3 separate regions of the Homo sapiens genome follow, and regions 2 and 3 are each linked to region 1. Evidence: promoter capture Hi-C in 16 types of primary human blood cells and fetal thymus (Javierre and others, 2016). All regions are on one chromosome and are shown on one strand. Each heading gives the region's core, a stretch centred on a gene start or on the middle of the fragment in contact. The rest is flanking DNA. Distances are from core to core; before and after follow the strand shown. Region 1 holds the start of SRSF4 (serine and arginine rich splicing factor 4). Region 2 holds the start of LAPTM5 (lysosomal protein transmembrane 5). Region 3 overlaps PUM1 (pumilio RNA binding family member 1).

Evidence for each region. The method cuts DNA at HindIII sites, captures the fragments that hold promoters and counts their contacts. A CHiCAGO score of 5 or more calls a contact.
Region 2: a contact is called between a fragment that was not itself captured here and the fragment with the promoter of SRSF4 in region 1, in 1 of 17 cell types (megakaryocytes). The highest score is 5.5, in megakaryocytes.
Region 3: a contact is called between a fragment that was not itself captured here and the fragment with the promoter of SRSF4 in region 1, in 1 of 17 cell types (total B cells). The highest score is 6.5, in total B cells.

What each region holds. Positions count from the first base shown.
Region 1 is chr1:29,179,739-29,183,577 of GRCh38, forward strand. It overlaps SRSF4 (serine and arginine rich splicing factor 4), which reads right to left and starts at 2,162. Exons shown (of 6, transcript NM_005626.5): 1 at 1,908-2,162. The coding sequence starts at 2,014. It also overlaps a transcript of MECR not described here. RefSeq lists silencers at 1,761-1,950, 2,001-2,210 and enhancers at 2,215-2,852, 2,281-2,510, 2,853-3,490. The HindIII fragment of the contact is 7,304 bases long and covers 1-3,839 here.
Region 2 is chr1:30,756,680-30,760,936 of GRCh38, forward strand. LAPTM5 (lysosomal protein transmembrane 5) reads right to left here and starts at 1,095. Exons shown (of 8, transcript NM_006762.3): 1 at 980-1,095. The coding sequence starts at 1,066. RefSeq lists enhancers at 1-698, 827-1,106, 2,175-2,244. The HindIII fragment of the contact is 232 bases long and covers 2,215-2,446 here.
Region 3 is chr1:31,060,151-31,064,193 of GRCh38, forward strand. The region is part of intron 1 of PUM1 (pumilio RNA binding family member 1); the gene reads right to left. Among named protein-coding and RNA genes, the nearest start is that of PUM1, 3.5 kb to the right of the region's middle. The HindIII fragment of the contact is 189 bases long and covers 1,800-1,988 here.

The DNA of each region.
Region 1 (3,839 bases), core at 912-3,411:
TCCAAGTTTTACTAGAGTTTAAAGCGAAAGCAAACATTTCTTAATTCAAAGTGCACATGTCATAATGCTTAATTTATTCAAGAGCAGAACTGTTTTCTGCCTCCTCCCCCAATTCATTTAGCACAGTGGTGGACATTTTGTTGATGGGTTATCAATACATTTGGTTGATGAATCAGTTTCCCATTAACAGTCTTGTCATTTCCTGCACACTATCACCTGAGTAACATTAGAAAAGACCTCACCAAACACGCTTTATGTTATCAAACACCAACAAGCAAAGATGTTTCCTCATCCCTCTGATTATAGCTGCCACTTACTGCCTAAGCCAAATGCTTTACATTTATTATCTCTAATCTTCCTTTTCCACATGAATGAACAACCAGGTTCAGAGAAGTAACTTGCCCATACGTAGTAAGTGGTGGAACCAGGATTTGACTTAGGCCTGGCTGGCTTCAAAATCCACACTTTGTCCACAAAAGTTAGTTATGCTGTCAATTTAGCTGGGCTCTGAAAAAAACTGGAGTTTCAACTTTCACATATATGGTATGTATACAATAACGTCTACCCGCCACTTCAATATATCCTTAAGAACTGAACGTTTTACTGTAGAAAAGGAGTAGTTTTTAAAGCCTTTTACTGTAAAAGAAATCAGTACTTTACTAAAGACGTCCTCAGAAAGAAAACGATTCTAATAATTAATTTGAAATGGCTTTTTAAACCCAAATCATCATTTGAGAATACGGTAGCTACCAGTTTTCTCATACGTGAAACATACTTAGGTAACTTTCAAAATGTTTCAGGTGTCAGTTACTAGTATAACCCTGGGGAGTAAACGGTAGCTATATTACAACTGTTGCAAAGTAGAGTTTCTTTTTTAAGCCAAGAGTTCTCTAACACCCAAGGTTTAGTGCCCTAAAATGTCACCCCAGTCCTTTTAATTTTATATCCATGCCTTCCAAGCCCTACCTAACATCTGGTTCCCAGTTTTCCCCGTTGAGTATTTTCTCCAGGCCTGATTCCTCAACAGTTTTCCCTAAAACCTGTAGCTCATGCTGGCACTATTTTTGCCGAAGTAGATTAAGAATACAAGTAATAGATCATACTCTGGGGGAGGCAGTAAGTTAACAATTTCGTCTCCGTCTGCGTTAACCAGACGCAGATACTAGCCAGGGTGGCCACTATTCTCCTAACAAATTCTACAACGGCCAAGCAATTTTTCGGTAAGTTGGAAAACGGAAACCACAGCGTGGAAACTCTGCACGGAGTCTTAAAGATAAGAAGTTAAGACTTTAATTTACTCTTGCAGAGGGAACGGTGAAGGCTTTCAGCACGGCAAGACGATACTTTCGAAACTGTCACTAGACTACTCAAACTGGAGTCTCCCGCCCAAAAAAGCGTGGCACACGGCTAAAAAGGGCCTCCCTCCAAGGCTCCAGTCCTCGGGGAAGACGGCGCTGTGACCGTCTGATCCATGAGACCGGGCAAGAGGTGAAAGGGAGCAGGAAATCCTGTTTATTTCCAGTAGTCCTCAGAGCGGGAAAGGTTGGTGTCTACCCAGAAACGAATAGGGCCCCAGTTCCGGGCCTAGGAAGGGAAAACCCAGGTCTCCCGGGCGCCCTGGAGCTGTGCCCCCCTGCCCGGAGCACCAGCCCCACTCGGGCTTTCCTTCTCCCCGTCCCACTCAGGGCCTCAGCACAGCTCCCATTATGCCTCCACCACCCCCACCCGCGCAGGCGCAGTGGGAACCGGGGCCTACCCGCGCCCCCGAGGCGCCGCCACTATGGCGGAGCCTGGCCAGGCCGGTAGCCGCTCCGCGCGGACCAGGCGTCCCTCTCCCGTCCCCGCGGCCTCCCCACCACCTATGGGGTCTGTCCCCGCCCGGCCGGACCCTCTTTCGCCCTCCTCACCCGTTCTTCAGATCCACCTCCAGGATCTTCCCGTAGCCCTTAAAGAAGCGCTCCACATCGCGCTCCCGGGCCTGGTAGCTCAGGCGGCCGATGTACACCCGCGGCATCCCGGCAACGGCAGTGATGGCTGGCCCCGGCCCCAGCCCCCCTTAGGCGGCGGCGGGCAAAGCGAGAGCACGGCGGCAGCGGCGGCGGCGGCAACGGGCGGGCGGCGGGACGGACGCAGCCGAACCCCGGCGACGTACGCGAGCACGCAGCTCGCGAGCGCGCGCTTCCACTTCCCCCGCCCTTCCCCGAGGCGGAAGGTAACCGGAGAGAGCGCGCGTTCGCTTCCCGCTCGGCCAGGACTGGGGGAGGAGCTTGCCCGGGGGCGCGCCGACGTGCGGCGGGGCAAGGTGATCGACAGGCGGCGCTGCGGCACGTCCTCGCGCGAGCTCGCCAAAGGGGTTCCTGCACCGCCTTCCGCAGCCAGCTGGCTTCGCCCCTCCCCCGGAAGTGTCCGCACCTCCTAGAGCCCAGCGAGCGAGCGTTTGTGCTTTTGTCCTTTGAACCGGGTGTGGTTTGGATTTCGGAGCTGGAGCTTTGGAATCAAACCTAGCTTCCAAACGATTGTGTACCCGTGACCTTGGGCTTGTTACGCGCGATGTCTCGGACCCTCCTTTATCTTTTCTGTAAAAGGGGGAGAGTAGTTCCTACCTTCCAGAGTTGTCTTGAGAATTATATGAGAATACGTACATAAAGCACTTAGTAGTTTTGTCATATCAAGTGCCCAATAAATGAGACCAGTATTATTTTTAAGAGGACACTGCTTAAATAGAAGCAGTGTGAGAAGCGGAGAAGGCTGGAGCTTTGGAGCTAGACTAGGCATGACGCCGAGTAAATTACTTGACCACAATCCAACCTATTTTTTTTTTTTTGAGACGAGTTTCGCTCGGTCGCCCAGGCTGGAGTGCAGTGGCGCGACCTCAGCTCACTGCAACCTCCGCCTCCCGGGTTCAAGCGATTCTCCTGCCTCAGCCTCCAGAGTAGCTGGGACTACAGGCGCCCGCCCCCACGCCCGGCTAATTTTTGTATTTTTAGGAGAGAGGAAGTTTCACCATATTGGCCAGGCAGGTCTCAAACTCCAGACCTCAGGTGATCCGCCCGCCTTGGCCTCCCAAAGTGCTGGGATTACAGGCGTGAGCCACTGCGCCTGGCCTATCCAGTCTATTTTCTAACCTGTAAAATTAGAATAATGTATACCCATCTCAAGGATTACACAGGTCACTAAATGGGGTAGTGTATGTGAAAGTACTTGGAACAGTGTCTGAAACATGGTAAGAGCTCAATAAATATTGGTTCCCTTCTCACTAACGCCATGTACCTAGAACCATAAAGGGTTTTGTTTCTTTGCTTGTTTTTGTTTTTTGAATATTTTGAAAGGATAACTCAAGGTTCAAATGATACACAGTGAAAAGTCTTCGCTGTCCACCAGCCACTTAGTTTCTCTTCCCAGAGGCAGTTTCTGAAATGTCCTTTAGGAGGTTAATTTACCCTTATAAAACAAATAGTAGGATACTATACATATGGTTCTACACAAAATATATTTTGAAAATCATTCCTTAAGAGTATAAAAGGACTAGTTTTATGGTTCATACCATTTTATACACAGTAATTTATTTAGCCAGTGCCCTGGTGAAGGACATTGAAATAAGTTCCAACCTTTTGTTATTACACTGCTGCAGTAACTTTGCATTTCTCTCTCTCTCTTTCTCTCTCTCTCTATATATATCATCTATTCCTAGAAATAGGATATTTGGGTCAGAGTTTTGATAAGTTATTGCTCAATTCCCCTTAAGTGGCTGTTTCCTCATATCCTCATCAACACCGTGTTATCAAACTTTTTGATCTTTGCCAATCTGAGAGGTGAAAAATGTTATCTCCAAGTGGTTT
Region 2 (4,257 bases), core at 1,081-3,580, 1.6 Mb after region 1:
CAGGAAGCAGACGCAGGCAGGTCTGAGTTTGCAGCAACCCACCGCAGCATGTGGATCTAGGCTAATTTTGAGGAAGCCCTTCCAGACTCATGAGAAAACTGTTAACCACAGGCCCTGAGTCACCCCAGGAGGAAGTCGCTTGGGTCTAGGGGAGATGAGTGTGGCCAGGAGTTTGGGAGTAGGGTGGGTCTAGGCAGGACAGTACAAGGACACTGACCCTCAGCCACCCCAGGCAGAGGGGCAGCCTTGGCCCCCGGGCACTGTGACTTGCCCAAGACCACACTGTGAGTCACCAGGAAAGGAGGAACCAGTGACAGCCGTGACTTCACAAGTTGCCCAACAAGAGCTTGGGCCGGACAAGTTACCCTAATGATTAGCACAGGTCTCAAGTTCTCTTTGGTGGGCAGAAGGCCGTGGTTTGACTGAGCTGGAAGCTGAGAGGACACGGCCCCTGCCTCCCCACTGGAGGCACAAAGGGGAGATCCCCACTTCTCATCCCCTCGAGTGGCCCAGGCTCCCTCCAGGCCCCAGGGGAAGAATCGGGGCTGTGTCTGCGGCCGACCTCACATCCCGGTCAAACAATCCCAGCCCACGTTCCTCCCAAGATCCCTGCCTTCCAAAGCACTTTCACATCTGCTGTTGGCTTTGCACACAAATAACCTTCCGGCTGCTGCTGTGCCCCATCTCACAGAGGCAGAAACGGAGCCAGCCTCGGAGTGAACGTCAGTTACATTTGCCTGGAAAGTGGATTCCAGCTCCCTTACTCCTCACTCTTGCGGCATCTCCCCAGGGTACCCCCAGCCATTTGACAGAGAAGGAAACTGAGGCCCAGAGCAGGACAGGGATTTGCCCAGGGTCCCCCAGAGAGGTGGAGAGCAGGAGTTCTTTCATTTGTGGGGCTCCGTAGATGACGGGTCACCGCAGACATTCACACTCACACAAGCACGCACGCACACACACCCGGGGCCCGCACACTCACCACATGGTAGATGGCCAGGGCGGTGGTTGCGATGCGGACATTGAAGCAGCAGCAGGTCTGGCGGACAGTGGACAAGCGGGGGTCCATGGTGCTGCCGTCCCCTCCTCTGAGACACTGAAGGGGAAAGAGCCTGGTGCCTGGAGCAGGGCAGAGAAGGGGAAGCTGCTGGCTGCCCTCCTCACTTCCTTCCTGCCCCTTAGACAGGCAGGGACAAGGTCGTCACAGCTGGGGCGGGGCAGCTGGGGAGGGGGAGTGGGGACAGGGCAGCAGCCTGCCTCAGAGCACCCCACTGCCCTCTGCCATTCCCAGGAGGGGGTTCCAGAGAGGACAGACCCTAACACGGTCATCATGCCCTTCTCTGCACCAGGGCCAGGGTTCCACCGTTTCACACAGCTTGCTTACTAGAAGAACACTACCAACTTTGGAAGCCAGGACTGTTACCAAGCCCATTTCCAGATGAGGAAACAGCTGTCCAGAGAGGTCAAGGCACTTGCCCCAAATCACACAGTAGTTAGCACTGGTGGCAGAATTCAAACCCAGATCTGTCTGGCTGCAAAAATAGCTATTGTCTAGGAGGCATTTCCTGCCTCTTCCAGGCATGCTCCTGGATTCACTCCTTTCATCCTCACCTCAATCCTTTGAGAGAGGTACTATTATGATCCCCATTTTACAGATGAAGAAACTGAGGCACAGAGAGGGGGAATGATTCGTGCAAGGTCACACAGCTAGTCAATGAAGGTGCAAGGATTTTAACTGAGGCTGACTGGTGCTAGAAGCCTCCCTGGAGCTGGTGTTCTCTCCCACTTCCTCACCCTGAGCCGCAGGGAGAAGCTTGTTCTTCCTAAGCTACGAAGAGGCGTGCAGGGCTCCAGACAAGGACGGAAGAATAACCAGGAAGCAAACCCATCAACTGTGCGCCAGGCCCTGGGCTAGGCTTCTCTTCTAGGTGGGTCAATAACTCTTCACAGCAATCTGTGAGACCCGAACCTCACTTTCAGGGCCTCAAGACCCAATCCCCATACTCACACAAAATCAGGGATTGCTTTTCCCCCTTGATCTTGCAAAAAGTTGGAATTAATAAGCCACAACTCTTAGGCAAGCTACCCTGGAATCTCTACTCCCTCCTCAGATGATAAATTATCCATATTGCAATAAAGAAAGGGAATAGGAAGTACATGCAACATTTCTGGAAGAAGCCCTGCTTCATTCCACAGCTGAGCCCCTTTGCAATGCCAAGCTTCTAGTGCAGAGCAGACAGGAACTGCCATGAAGCCCTGCCCTCCCAGGAGATCATGGAGTTAGGATTGGACACTGCTGCAGCCCATCATTTCTGCCCCAGGAGAGGTTATAGAAAGTCCCTAAGCTCCTCCCACTTGGCAGGAGTTGCTCTGTTAGACCCACAAAACTTGATTGGTGGACTTGATCAATCCATTCTCCATGTGCCAATGAGACCAAGGGGACTCTGCAAGCTTTGGGCTCCTGGGAGGCCTGGCCTATCCCTTCCCAACTTCATTTTCAAGGCTGTTCCTGTTCCTTCATAAGCCTTGCTGAGGCCTGACATCATAGAAAGGTGACACAGTGCAGTGGTTAAGAACTTTGGCTCCACAGGCCCATGGCCTGGGATCTTCTGGCTGGGTAGGCAGAAAACCAAGAGAAGTCCTCCTTTGTCTAAGAGTAGCAAGACCAGAGGAACTGGAGATCAGGAAACCAGGGGCCAGGAGGGCCCTGAGGCCATGCTGGGGAGTCTGCATTTGATTGTGCACAGAAGCCATTTGACGATTTCCTACCATAATAAATGATAGCCATTCATAACATTGTGATTTGGTGAAACCAGGACAGGTGCAAAGCCAACTCCCAAAGAGAGGGATGAAACACACTGACAGCATGTGGAATAATTGTACATGGTCTATGGGTAAACATTTCTCATTTTTTATGGTGATAAATTCATTTTAATGTGCATTATAAAAATATACATAACTAGTCCATGAATCCTGTGATTTTCCATTTATAGGAGTAATATAAAGTCTCATTTTAAAAGAAATGCATTTAAATAAAAAAGGCAGTAAGTCAATTTAAAGAACATATTAAGGAAGCCACAGCCTAGGAGGACGCAGATGTGGCAGACAGCCCTGGAGGTGGAGTAGGTGGCATCCGTTTGGGAATCCTGGGGCATGGGGAATCCCAGCTCCCCACTTAGTAGCTGTGTGGTGTCAGACAAGGCACTTGATCTCTCTGAGCTGTTGTTTTCACCTCTGCAAAACGGCGGGGCGGTTGGGGGGAACAGAAATTTGCCTGGCAGGGCTGCGGTGAAGGTGAAATGAGGTCACGTGAATGCATCTGTTTGTTTTCTCCCTTCCAGCCCGTCCCTGCTCCCCGATCTCACCCGTACTCAGGCTGCTAGGAGGAGGCAGAGCTGGGATTGAACCCCTGATCTGTCTGATTCTGAGTCCCCTCGGGCACTACCTCCCTCGCAGAAGCAGGAGTTCTGATGCAGTCATTTGTCTCTCACCGGGTCACCAGGCTCCAGCACACACTGGCCCCTTGGCAGGCACCTCAGTCACTCCCTGTGGAGTACAAGCCTGAATCACTTTATTGTCATTCCCAACAAACCCCCTGTGGAGAGGACGGCTATTATCCCAAAGGTCAGACCCTTTGGCCAAAGCCACTGTGATAGGCAGAATAGTGCCTCTCACCCCCCAAAAAAAATCCACCCTAATCTCTGGAACCTGTGCGTACATGGCCTTACATGGCAAAGAAACTTCACAGGCGCCATGAAATTCAGGATCTTGAGGTGGGTGGGGAGATTATCCTGCATTATCTGGATGGCCCTGAGGTCATCAAATGGGTCCCCATAAGTGAAGGAAGATCAGAGTCAGAGAGGGAGTGGAAGATGCCACACTCCTGGCTCTGCAGTTGGAGGAAGAACCATGAGCCAAGGAGTGCAGGCGGCATCCAGAAACTGGAAAAGGCAAGGAAATGGCTTCTCCTCTAGAGGCTCGAAAGGGAATCACTTTCATTTTAGCTCAGCGAGGCGCATTCCTGACTTCTGGCCTCCAGAACTGTAAGACAATAAATGTCTGTTGTAGTCACTGTGTTTCTGGTCTTTTATTATAGCGGCCGCAGGGAACAAATACAGCTGCTCAGTGGAAGCAACAGCTGAGCCTGGGGCCCCGTCGCTGGAGCCCAACACACTCCACCGAGACCACAGTCCCCATCTGCACAAGTGCAGCCCTTACTTCCTTGCTGTGTGACCCCAGCCAAGTCGTGAACTTCCCTGA
Region 3 (4,043 bases), core at 644-3,143, 1.9 Mb after region 1:
AAAGCCTTTTTAAAACTATCACAACTTCGGCCGGGTGTGGTGGCTCATGCCTGTAATCCCAGCACTTTGGGAGGCCAAAGTGGGTGGATCACCTGACGTCAGGAGTTCAAGACCAGCCTGGCCAACATGGTGAAACCCCATCTCTACTAAAAATATAAAAATTAGCCAGGTATGGTGCTGGGCACCTGTAATCCCAGCTACTCGGGAGGCTGAGGCAGGAGAATGGCTTGAATCCAGAAGGCAAAGGTTGCAGTGAGCCGAGATCATGCCACTGTACTCCAACCTGGGTGACAGAGCGAGACTCTCTCTCAAAAAATCAATCAATCAATCAATCACAACTTTACAGCTGGAGCAGACATATGCTAATAACTAAACAAAAGCCTAAACCCATATATAAGTAGCAATGGCTCAGATTGTGTAATTTGAAAGGATCCCTTAAAGTGTCCAACATATTGGCCAGGCGAGGTGGCTCACGCCTATAATCCCAACACTTCGGAGGCCAAGGCAGGTGTATCACTTGAGGTCAGGAGTTCGAGACCAGCCTGGCCAACATTATGAAACCCCATCTCTACTGGAAATACAAAAATTAACTGGGTGTGGTGGTACACACTTTTAATCCCAACTACTTGGGAAGCTGAGGCAGGAGAATCGTTTGAACCCGGGAGGCAGAGGTTGCAGTGAGCCAAGATCGCACCACTGCACTCCAGCCTGGGCGACAAATCGAGACTCTGTTTCAGTAAAAAAAAAAAAAATAATAAATAAATAAATAAATAAAACCTCCAATATATTGATAGGATATTTCTTAAAGAAACAATAAAACCCTCTGACCAAGAACAGCAGCAGAATGCTTTTAGCCTAAGCCCTCTCCTCAGTTGTCACTGATTTTTAAAAGCATTAATATTTTTACCAGTAACTTACAACTATTAACTGTAATCACATTATGCCATTAGTACTTCAACTACTATAAACAGGATGAGACCAAACCAAATTTAAACACTTCATATTAGTGTAGAAAGCCTCACTACAGGCTGGGCACAGTGGCTCACTCCTGTCATCCCAGCACCTTCGGAGACTTAGGCAGGGAGAATCGCTTGAGCCAGGAGCTGAAGACCAGCCTAGGCAACACAGTGAGACCCCCATCTCTATTATTTTATTAAAAAATAAGGCTCTAAGAAGGCCAATGGAGGTTGGGCACGGTGGCTCATGCCTGTAATCCCAGCACTTTGGGAGGCCGAGGCGGGTGGATCATGAGGTCAGGAGATCAAGACCATCCTGGCTAACATGGTGAAACCCCGACTCTACTGAAAACACAGAAATTAGCCAGGCTTGGTGGCACGCGCCTGTAATCCCAGCTACTTGGGAGGCTGAGGCAGGAGAATCACTTGAACCAGGGAGGCAGAGGTCGCACCACTGTGCTCCAGCCGGGCGACAGAGCGAGACTCTGTCTCAAAATAAATAAATAAATAAAATAATTTTTTTAAATTATAAAAAAAAAAGAAAGCCTCACTATACAAACCAGAAGCCTCAGTTGGGTGTGGTGGCTCATACCTACAATCCCAGCACTTTGGGAGGCTGAGGTGGGCAGACAGCTTGAGCCCAGGAGTTCAAGACCAGCCTGGGCAACATAGCAAGACCTATCTCTACTAAAAATAATTAGCCAGGCATGGTGGCATGTGCCTATAGTCCCAGCTACTAGGGAGGCTGAGGTGGGAGGATCATTTGAGCCCAGGAGCGGGAGGCTGCACACCCGCTTGGGCGACAGAGTGAGTTCCTGTCTCAAAAACAAACAAACAAACAGAAGCTTCAACACGGTAATAGTGTAATGAATATATCGCAGACATTGTCTCATCACAAAAGCATTGAAAGGTAGCCATTATTATTTCTATTTTACAAATGAAAACACTAAGGTACAGGAGGAAAATGGGATGTTTCCAAGGCCATTCAACTAGCAAGTAGCAGAGAAAGGATTCAAACCCTAATCGTTCCCAAGCTTACTTCTTTCTACTAACCCCTTGCAGGAGTAACTCAACAATATGTCTCATTTGTATCCTCTACTCCTCTGGAAGACCAACAAAGAATCCCTCAAATGTTACTATGAAACACTAAAGTTCCTTAAAACCAAAAACTGCATCTGTACTTAAGATAGAACACTTGCCAGCCTGTGGGTGCTTTTAAAAAATGCTACAAAGTGTCCGGACACGGTGGCTTACGCCTGTAATCCCAGCACTTTGGGAGGCGGAGGCAGGCGCATCTCCAGGTCAGAATTCCAGACCAGCCTGGCCAATATACTGAAACCCCGTCTCTACTAAAAATATAAAAAGTAGCCAGGTGTGGTGGCACGCACCTGTAGTCCCAGCTACTCGGGAGACTGAGGCAGAAGAATCGCTTGAACCCAGGAGGCGGAGGTTGCAGTGAGCCGAGATCAAGGCACTGCACTCCAGCCTGGACGACAGAGTGAGACTCCATCTCAAAAAAAAAAAAAAAAAGCTACAAAGTAAATAAATCAGTTACCAATTAGGACACACCTGTCCACAGCCACGGTCTAATTTCAAAGCCATCGGCCTAACAGTCTACTGCTACAAATGCTTTATCTCTTCTCCCAACCCCCACTGTGATGCTTCAAAAACACATGAATAACAAATCTACTATCTCTCTGTTGAATAAATAAACCTTCTGATAAAGTAGCATTTGCTTCTCACAACTAAATTCATGTTTTTGAAGCCAGCCTAAGAAGACACAATGGAATTTGTAATTTGTTTAAAGCCTAATTTGGAAATGCCTAGTCTAGGTTAAGAATTCCAATCCATCAGAACCTTAGCAGGGTACTGGAGTAGTCTAACCTAGACACTAGTCCCTGCTCAAGTACCAAAACCAAAAAGTCATAGCCCGGTTTCACCATCGGTCTTTCAAAAGTGCAAACCAGCCTAATGCCTCCCTGCTTGGTTTTTTAAAGAATTCATTACTCTCTTAGTACTAATACTAGACAGTCCCATTCTGTTCTAAAAGGAAATCTCGACCTAACAATCTTTGTTCTAGAGCAGGCCAAGAGTTCCAAAACCCAAGTTCTTTCACTAAACAAAACTACCTGTTTCCTCATCTAGAAAATGAAAGAAATCCTTCCTCTATGACTCTCAATGTTTTGGGTTTTTCTTAATGAAAATGAGATAAATATAAAAGTTTTTGGTAAATTTAAAGTCATCGTGCTTAAGACTCTTAGAATTTAGTTACCCCTAGTTAAGGCAACTCCAGTCCCTAACAGAATTCCTAAAACAGCAAATGCAATCTTTTCTGAAATAAAAGCCTTCTCAAAATAGTTATCTAGGAGGCTGAGAGAAGGATAATGAGAGATTACCTAAGGAGGACAATGTACGTTATTCCAGTGATGGACACACAAAAAGCCCTGGCTTCACCACTACGCAATACACGCATGTACAAATTACACTTGTACCTCACAAATTATACAAATAAAAATTTTTAAAAGAAAAAAGTTATCTAACAAAGAATATCCACATAAAAGAGGAGTTTATCACTGACGCACACTAAACACACCTTCATTCTAAAAGGAATGGGGGAAAGAAAAGACTCCTATAAAAATGTTCAAACGAAACAATTGGCTTTTGTAAAGCTATCTGTATGCCCTAAGACTTCCTGCTTTACCTAAAGAGGCAAGGCAGTTTCTCAAACCAGAGAAAACCTGGCAGAACAGTTTCAAAGTGAGCAAATACCTAAGCAATTAACATGTTATCTTGGGTAGTTTTGTGGTATTTTGGCAAATACGGCACAAAAATTAAAAACTCAGTATCCTAAATATCAGAAAAGCTCACTAATACGTGTAGCATTTAAAATGTGATTTTTTTACAAATGACACCTTATAAGTACTTTAAGCAACTAGAAGTGCTCAGTCCAGCTACTCTTTCACAGCTTTCAAATGTTTACAAAGTTTTTTAAAATATCACTAATTGAGTTGAATTCAAAGGAACACGGTTTACTTTATTTCCATGGCTCACCTTTTACTAAAATGCTTAGTGGTTTAAAAGGTGTTT